2 separate regions of the Homo sapiens genome follow, and region 1 is linked to region 2. Evidence: promoter capture Hi-C in 16 types of primary human blood cells and fetal thymus (Javierre and others, 2016). All regions are on one chromosome and are shown on one strand. The core of a region is centred on a gene start or on the middle of the fragment in contact, and the rest is flanking DNA. Distances in the headings are between cores, read along the strand shown. Region 1 has its middle 18 kb from the start of MIR146A. Region 2 holds the start of MAT2B (methionine adenosyltransferase 2 non-catalytic beta subunit).

Region 1 (4,372 bases), core at 556-3,055, 3.0 Mb before region 2:
AAGCGTGCATTAGGAAGGCTCTGCAAATCAGGAACAGCAATTGAGGACTGGCATCCAAGAGCTCTCTCATTGCTATGGTAACAGTGGGGGTGGGGGTGGTAACAAGCTAATTGTGTTTATAAACCTCAGCTGGGGCTTGTTTCTGAGCACTTTCTTGAGTTAAAGGTGATTCCAGGATCCTGGTCTCTGCCATGCAACAAATCCTAACTCCTGGGACCAGGATCCTATTTTGAAATTGCTTATATTCCTATCTCTAGATTCTAGCTCCTCATTAGACTCTCTTGAGTAGGGTAGAAATTCCAATATGGGGAAACAGGTGGAGGAAATCTGATGATCAACCCAAACATCTCAGGACAGGAAGCTGCATCTAGAGTAATGAATACTAATTTCAAACCTATATATTGCATTCGGTGGGTAAAAGTGTGAGCGGTAGAAACAGAAGGCTGGATATCATCAACTGAAGAATGAGGAGGTTCATAAATTTGGAAAGGAGAGCTTTATTTCTCATAAAGGATTGCAGCCTGCAGGGTTGCCATTCTGACAGGGTGGGAAGCATAGCCTCTGGTCAGAAGCCCAAAACAGATACTCTGAGGGTGGGGCAAATGGAATAGAAATTTATGCTGAGCAGAGTGGTCGAATATACATATTCAATAAGCTATCAGAGGAATCATGAATATTTATGAAGGAGAAATATGCACACGTGCAATTGAGCTTCATCCCCCTGCTTGTGTCCCATGTACAAAAAATGACGGTGTTAGCATGATCTAAGGGTGGAGTTTTTGGCCCTTTGACATCAAAAGGTGAAGTAGACAGGAACACCCTTACTGTGCATTCTTTGTAGATTGGCCAGAACCACCCTGTGGTCGGTGGTCTCTTATCGGGCAAAAAAGGAGAGGCAGCATTAGGCGGTAGACTGATACCAGTGGTGGAGTCTTTTGAAAGGGCTGTTTTCTTTTTAAAATATTTTTAAATTTATTTTTTTATTTTCAATAGGTTTTTGGGGAACAGGTGGTGTTTGGTTACGTGAATGAGTTCTTTAGTGGTGATTTGTCAGATTTTGGTGCACCCATCACCAAGCAGTGTACCCTGTACCCAATGTGTAGTCTTTTATCCCTCGCCACCCCACCCTTTCCCCGAGTCCCCAAAGTCCAATGTATCATTCTTATGCCTTTTGTTGTTCTCATAGCTTAGCTCCCATATATGAGTGGGAACGACAATGTTTGGTTTTCCATTCCTGAGTTACTTCACTTCATCCAGGTTGCTGCAAGTGCCATTATTTCATTCCCTTTTATGGCTGAGTTGTATTCCATGGTGTGTGTGTGTGTGGCTGTTTGAGTGTGTGTGTATATATATATATACACACACACACCATATTTTCTTTGTCCATTTCTTGTTTGTTGATGGGCATTTGGGCTGGTTCCATATTTTTGCAATTGCAAATTGTGCTGCTATAAACATGTGTGTGCGAGTATCTTTTTCATATAATGACTTCTTTTCCTCTGGGTAGATACCCAGTAGTGAGATTGCTGGATCAGAAGGTAGATCTACTTTTGGTTCTTTAAGGAATCTCCACACTATTTTCCATAGTGGTTGTACATAGTTTACATTCCCACCAACAGTGTAAAAATGTTCCCTTTTCACCGCATCCACACTAACATCTATTATTTTTCTGATTTTTTGATTATGGCCATTCTTGCAAGAGTGAGGTGGTATCTCACTGTGGTTTTGATTTACATTGCCCTGATCATTAGTGATGTTGAGCATTTTTCCATATGCTTCTTGGCCATTTGTATATCTTTTTTTGAGAATTGTCTATTCATGTCCTTAGCCCACTTTTTAATGGGATTGTTTGTTTTTTTCTTGTTAATTTGTTTGAGTTTGTATCAGTCTGTTTTCACGCTGCTGATAAAGACATACCTGAGACTGGGAGGAAAGAGGTTTAATTGATCTTAAAGTTCCACATGGCTGGGGAGGCATCAGAATCATGGCAGGAGGTGAAAGGCACTTCTTACATGGTGGCAGCAAGAGAAAAATGAGGAAGAAGCAAAAGTGGAAACCCCTGATAAACCCATCAGATCTCATGAGACTTATTCACTATCATGAGAATAGCATGGGAAAGACTGGCTCCCATGATTCAATTACCTTTCCCTGGGTCGCTCCCACAACGCGGGGGAATTCTGGGAGATACAATTCAAGTTGAGATTTGGGTGGGTATACAGCCAAACCATATCAGAGTTCTTTGTAGATTCTGGCTATTAGTCCTTTGTAAGATGTATAGATTGCGAAGATTTTCTCGCACTCTGTGGGTTGTCTGTTAGCTCTGCTGATTATTTCTTTTGCTTTGCAGAAGCTCTTTAGATTAATTAAGTCCTATCTATTTATTTTTGTTTTTGTTGCATTTGCTTTTGGGTCCTTGGTCATGAAGTCTGAAAGGGCTACTTTCTGTTAAGCCCTTAGGGAAGAAAGGCTAATGATGGTTAATGAGGGAGGGGGTATAATGATGTGTATCTGAGTCTCCTATCCTGTCATGGCTGAGAACTCAGTCTTCAAGTTTACTCTGGGATCCCCTTGGCCAAGAGATGGTCCATTCAGTCAGTTGGTGGGGAAGGGGGGGGCTTTGAATTTTACTTTTAGTTTATGATATATAGTTGCATGACCTTGAGCAAGTTGCTTTTCTCTGCCTTATTTTCCTTGTCTCTTAAGATGAGACTCACATTAGTTGCTACCTTAGTGGATTGTTTTCGGATTGAGACAATAGCACTGTGCCCAGTACATGTTAAGCACTCAATATATTTAAACTATTATCATTGCTATTGTTGTTTTATCTCAATGAACTTCTAAAGTGCCTCTAAGGAGGGTAGAATAGATATTATTAACCCCATTTTACAGCCTCAGAAACTGAAGCAAAGGATATTTAAGACTCATTATGACATCATACTGCTTCACTATTGCTGGCAGGATAAAACTAGGACTTAGTTTTCCTAACTTCACGTGGACCGGACAAGGGACAGGTTCTGTACGTGTGTTCTAGAAAGGGGGACAGAATTTATTTTTTGAAAAGGCAATATAAGCACATAAGTAAAATTCTGCAAGAAGGTGTGCAGTGAAAAATAAACCTCCTTCCTATCCCCCTCATCTCCAGTTCTTTGGTCCCTTCCTGTTGACAGATCCTGTGCATCTTTCAGGAGCTGTTTCATGCATACACAAGCCTAGTGTGGGTGTGTGTGTGTGTGTGTGTGTGTGTGTGTATCCCAGGGGACTGTTTCTACAAAAGGCCCCTTCCTGCTCCTGTCCCTGATCCAGGTGTGTGTGTGTGGTGTATATGTGTTTGGGGTGTGAGGGGTGTGTCTGTGCGCATGTGTGTGTATGGTGTATGTGTGTGGGGTGTAAGGTGTGTGTGTGTGGTGTATGTGTGTGGGGTGTAAGGGTTGTGTGTGTGTGGGTGTGTGTGTGGAGCCTGTGTGTGTATGTGTGTGTGGGGTGTGAGGGTGTGTGTGTGGGGTGTGAGGGTGTGTGTGTGGGGTGTGAGGTGTGTGTATGTGCACATGTGTGTGTATGGTGTACGTGTGTGTAGGGTGTAAGGTATGTGTGTGGTGTATGTGTATGTGGGGTGTAAGGGGTGTGTGGGGTGTGTGTGTATGTGTGTGGAGTCTGTGTGTGTGTGTGGGGTGTGAGAGGTGTGCGTGTGCGGTGTGCGTATGTGTGTGTGAGGTGTGAGGGGTGTATGTGTGTGTGAGGGGTGTGTGTATGTGTGTGGTATGTGGGGTGTGTGTGTGAGACATGTGTATTTGTGTGTGTGGTGTGTGTGGGGTGTGAGGGGTGGGTGTGGTGTATGTCTGTGTGTGGGGTGTGAAGGGTGTGTGTGTTAGGTGTATGTGTGTGTGGTGTATGTATGTGTGGGGTGTGATGGGTGTGTGTGTGGTGTATGTGTGTGAGGGGTGTGTGTATGTGTGTGGTGTCAGTGTGTGTGTGGTGTCTGTATGTGTGGGGTGTGAGGGGTGTACGTGGGGTGTGTGTGGTGTATTTGTGTATGAGGTGTGAGGGGTGTGTGTGTGTGGTGTGCGTGAGGGGTGTATGTGTATGTGTGCATGTGGTGTGTGTGTGGTTTATGTGTGTGTGGGGTGTGTGTGGGGTGTGAGGGGTGTGTGTGCATGCATGTGTGTGTATGGTGTACTTGTGTGGGATGTGTGTGTGTGGGGTGTGTGTGTGGGGTATGTATGGGTGTGTGGGGTATATGTGTGTGTATGTGTGTGTGGGGTATGTATGGCAGGCCCAGTCCAGTGCTGTTTCCCTGCTTTCTTAGACCCTTTTCTCAGAACCTTGGAGTTCCTGACTGTGTGAGAAGGCATAGGCACGTGGCCTGGTGGTGTGA
Region 2 (4,606 bases), core at 322-2,821:
AATTGCATATGCTTGCCCTTAAACCTGCTTCACGTTGAAGAATGAAGAATTAATTTTCTTTTCTCCCATAGAAAGGTAAGATTACATCACGTGTTGCGACTAGAAACTTTAAACCGAATTCCCAGTTAAGAGAAAAAGTAGTAAGATGATCTTGGCTGCTCCCCCGGCCCTCTTCCCGCCCTCTTCTTTGTTGTCCCCTGATTATGCTTGTTTAGCGCTGGGGCAGTCCTCAAGGATTCCCTAAATAAAGCCAAACTAATGAACAGTAATAGCCTGTGTTTAAAAAAAAAAAAAATCGGAACATAAGAAACCTCAGGCTGTCTTCGATTACTGTTCTAGAGAAACTTTATGTTTACACGAATAAGGAAATGAGTTTTTGTTGGGGGTTGAGGAGGAAGGAAAGTCATGGTGTTCTGACGTGGAAAACTTCTTTAAAAGGCTGCTTAGTCTTTAGTTTGAAAATAAACCAAAAAGGTTTAGGAGTCGGGGAAAGGCCCTAGGAAAATCCAGACAGTGGTCACGTTTGTGGACGACGTTTAGAGCTTGCTATCCTGGGCACACAAGAACCCTTGGACTGTTCGGTGCAAAGTTGGCAAATCCTACACGGCCTGTGCCAGGGTTTACTTTCTGCATCAATTTCACAGGCGTCCAGCCTGGCTGAGGATTTTTTGCGGTTTTTAACTGGAAGGGAAATAAGTCGGCATCAGCACTTAGGGCTGCTTAACTTTTAAAAGGTGGTAGAACGCCCAGCCTTACACGCTGCTGCTTAAATTCTCGGTGCTCACCAAGGCTGGGCTCGTGTGGCCCAATCCTGCAATCCCCGAGGCGGTGTTTCTTAAAGAGTGGGCTTGATTCTGGTTAAACCCATTAAGAAGTCGGACCCCGGGCTCGTTTCTTGTTCTGTAATTATGGGTAAAGTCCAAGGATCTGCGTTTTGAAGAGGTACCTAAGTAGTTCATCTTCCTTCCCCCTACAACTTTTTATTTTTAATTAGTTAAAAATAGTTTTACATTTTTGATATCTCACACACAGGTTTTTTCTTTTTTTAAGCATCCCAGGAAGACAAATGGCTCAGACGCCAACCCTTTTATTTTTATTCCTTGTCTTTTTCTAAATCTTTCAAAACCCCCACCTAGAGCTCTAGAGATGTGTCCATTATGCTCTACCCACCTCCGCCCCCGCCCCCATGACTTTAAAATGCTTTTTATTCCACTTTTTATATTGCTCAGTCGATCCTCATGCACTGCGCAGTCTGCAAACTTGAAACTCAAGGCGATCCACTTCAATCTTTTCCCGAGTCAAGAAAAAAAGGAAAAAAAGTAGAATAAAAAGCACTCAAATAAAATCTCCGAAACAAAACCTGAATTCACTGCCTAAGGTCAGGGCCTTTCTTTTGTGTGTCGCTTTAAGCATCGGCGCGTGGGCTGGGGGCAGACCGCGCGTACCCGCCCTCTTTCTGGGGCGTCGGCGGAGCGTGGCCAATCAACGGGCGCGGCTATGGCAGCGGAAGCCGGAAGCGGCGAGCGGGGTCGTTCTGGGCCTAGGGGAGGCGGGCCGAGGGCGTCTGAGCTGAGGCCCGCGTCGATCCTGGGTTGGAGGAGGTGGCGGCCGCTGAGGCTGCGGCGTGAAGACGGCGGGCATGGTGGGGCGGGAGAAAGAGCTCTCTATACACTTTGTTCCCGGGAGCTGTCGGCTGGTGGAGGTGAGGGAGTCGGCCTGGGCGTCTCCGGTGGGAGCGGGGGCGCCGAGGGGGACGAGCCACCGGGGCTCGGGCGGCTTTGCAGGCGTATTCCGCCCGGGTCAGAGCCTCCGGCCGGGAGTGGTCTCACCGCCACCCTCCCAGCCCCGGATCCGAGGGGGGCGCCACCGAGTTTGTTTATCTCAGCGCACACGGGTCAGTGTTTTTTTCTTCCAGCCACTGCGGCAGGAAGCAAGTAGGTGGAGGTTTTACTTTCGAGTTCTGTCTCTGCTCCTGAGGACGAAGAGGTTTTTCAGAATTGTTTGTTTTGATTTTGGTTTTCCCCGTTTATTCATCTTTGGTTCGTATTTCTCGATCTTACAAGTTCGTAGGTTTGAGAAAGAACAGGAAAAGGTGACTTCTCACAAATAACAGTGCTGGAGATGACAACTTATTGAACTCTTAAGTTCTCAGCACTATGTTATGCACTTGACGGGCATTACTTTAATCCTCCACTGTGAGATACTTGTTATTGCCTCATTTTGTAGACGAGAAAACGGGCATAGAGGGTGAGACATTGGCCCAGGTTCATTCCGTAAGGTTGGAGCCTGGAATTCAGATACAGGTTTGTGTGACTGTCTTGGGCTTTGAACCACTACGGAGTTTCCCTGAAGGAAGATTATGGTGATGATTGGAAGATCCATCTCTGGTGCCCCCCTCGCCCCCGTCCCATCCTGCTCCATTCCACTTAAGGGCCTCCAGCATTAATCTGTCCACAGAACATATCCAACCCTGGGGATAAGAACACTACTAATGCCCAGACCATGTCTTTTGGAGAGAGTAGAGAATATAGGAGATGGCTGTTTCTGTTATTGCAAAGTTTTCATGCTTCCAAATTTACTTAGGGTTTTCAAATCACTTTGGTTCTTTGAGGGTAAAGTTAGGATAAATGGTCTATTAAACCTCTATGTTCCTAGGTCCTCCAGACCGTGCTGAGTGCATGTTACATACGTTTACATTTATATGTATGCATTTGTATGTGTACGTGTGCATATAAAGCTTAATCTACTTTCACAAAAAGAAGTTCAGTATAAAAATGAAAATAGCTTTTCGTGTTTTCCTTCATTAAAAATGAAACAACGAAGAGCTTGGCACAGACTTACTGCTCTCAAAACCTGTAGAATTAAAGCTTACTGACTCATGAGAACGAGAACTGTCTCATAGTTAACGTTAGAGAAGCATCCTGGAGTGGTTGTTGTTAGTAATACTGTCTGTGGAGCACAGTAGCGTCGCAGTAGAAGTTAGACCAATCCCACCTAAGTAGTCAGAGAATCTTAAAAAGTAAAGCCCAGTAATGTTTACCTTAAGGGTCTGTTTCTGGGGAATTAAAAAATTAAACATGGAACTGTGCCAAGTTTTAAAGTTTCCAAAAACGACAAGGTATTTACCACTGAAATTTGGGAAAACCACATACTAATAGTATTCCATTCTTTACTTTTCTAGAACATTTTTAGTAGACATTAATGCAGGTGTGCTAAAGTAGAAATCACTGTCCCAGAGTACTGTGTTGGACCATTTGGAAGGAGCCATGTATCTCCCATTACCTATACAATTTGGTATCATTCGATTAGATACGATAATAAGAATATTTATTTATATGTACTTAATTTTTCAAGAAATGTTTTTTTGGTGTCCATAAATCTGGTCCCTTGGAGTGATTGAATTCCGTACTTCAGAGTTTAGACAATAAGAGGCAGATACGTTTAGAGTAACTTAAACTGATATTAGATCTACTTTCCCCCATATAATAAAAATTGAGAAAAAGTAGACTTCAGGCAAAGTATTATCAACTCTTTATTGTGCCTTGAGTGAACTAGATAGCATTTTATTCTTTCATTCTGACTTTCTTAAAGTGTTTAGACATTTCTTCCTTGTGCACAACTAAAATAATTTATGGAGTGCAGGTCCAAAGTAGTTTTTAGAGGGATATTTCTTTTTCTAAAGAACGAACCAAAAAGCCTCAACAAAACAGTGTAAAAGGCAGAGTATTGCTTATATAGAAGCTCAAAAACAGAGATATTTGTTTGGCATATTTTAAATTTCGGAGTAATGCATATTCAGAGGAAAAGTTACCTTATTTAAGTAAACGAAACTATTCGGACTCCTCGTGGTAGGGATAATATGGAAAATGTTAGAAATATAGAACTTTAAAGCTGAAAGAGCCTTAGTCATTTTGTCTAAATGCCTTCCCCATTTACCAATGAGGAATTAGATCAATAGAGATAGAATAACTTCTAAACACCAATTTGTGGCAGAACAGATAAAACTTTAATCATTCATGAAACCAAATATTAGTTCACAGGATTGAGACAAAATGCAGTGTATTTGACTTGACCAGAGAAGCAAGACTCAGGTTCTGGTTCCAGCTTTTTCTCTTTTACTATAGACAAAACATTTAACACTGGACTTCTTGTTACTCTCTTTGGAAATAATATCTCTTCTAACAAGCTGCTGGGTTTTTTTGTTTTCTTTTTTTTCCTCTTGCTCTTTCACCCCGTCTGAAGTGCAGTGGCTCAATCTCTGCTCACTGCAACCTCTGCCTCCAGGGTTCAAGCGATTCTCCTGCCTCAGCCTCCCAAGTAGCTGAGATTATAGGCGCCCACCACCATGCCCGACTAGTTTTTCTATTTTTGGTAGAGACAGCGTTTCACCATGTTGGCCAGGCTGGTTTTGAACCCCTGACCTCAAGTGGTTGGTCCACCTTGGCCTCCCAAAGTGCTGGGATTACAGGCGTGAGCCCTGGCACCCGGCCTCAAACTGCTATTAAAAAAACAAAAACAGCTATGATTGTATACTTATATAACACGTTAGTTTTCTTTTTTTTGGTTTTTTTGTTTGTTTGTTTTTTTGAGATGAAGTCTAGCTCGT

The links. The method cuts DNA at HindIII sites, captures the fragments that hold promoters and counts their contacts. A CHiCAGO score of 5 or more calls a contact.
Region 1: a contact is called between a fragment that was not itself captured here and the fragment with the promoter of MAT2B in region 2, in 5 of 17 cell types (non-activated CD4 T cells, naive CD8 T cells, total CD8 T cells and 2 more). The highest score is 15.2, in non-activated CD4 T cells.

Annotation. Positions count from the first base shown.
Region 1 is chr5:160,500,957-160,505,328 of GRCh38, forward strand. No RefSeq gene overlaps it. Among named protein-coding and RNA genes, the nearest start is that of MIR146A, 18 kb to the left of the region's middle. RefSeq lists an enhancer at 3,902-4,372. The HindIII fragment of the contact is 5,828 bases long and covers 1-4,372 here.
Region 2 is chr5:163,504,048-163,508,653 of GRCh38, forward strand. MAT2B (methionine adenosyltransferase 2 non-catalytic beta subunit) reads left to right here and starts at 1,572. Exons shown (of 7, transcript NM_013283.5): 1 at 1,572-1,702. The coding sequence starts at 1,640. RefSeq lists enhancers at 1,305-2,111, 1,329-1,418, 1,459-1,578 and a silencer at 1,749-1,888. The HindIII fragment of the contact is 7,455 bases long and covers 1-2,735 here.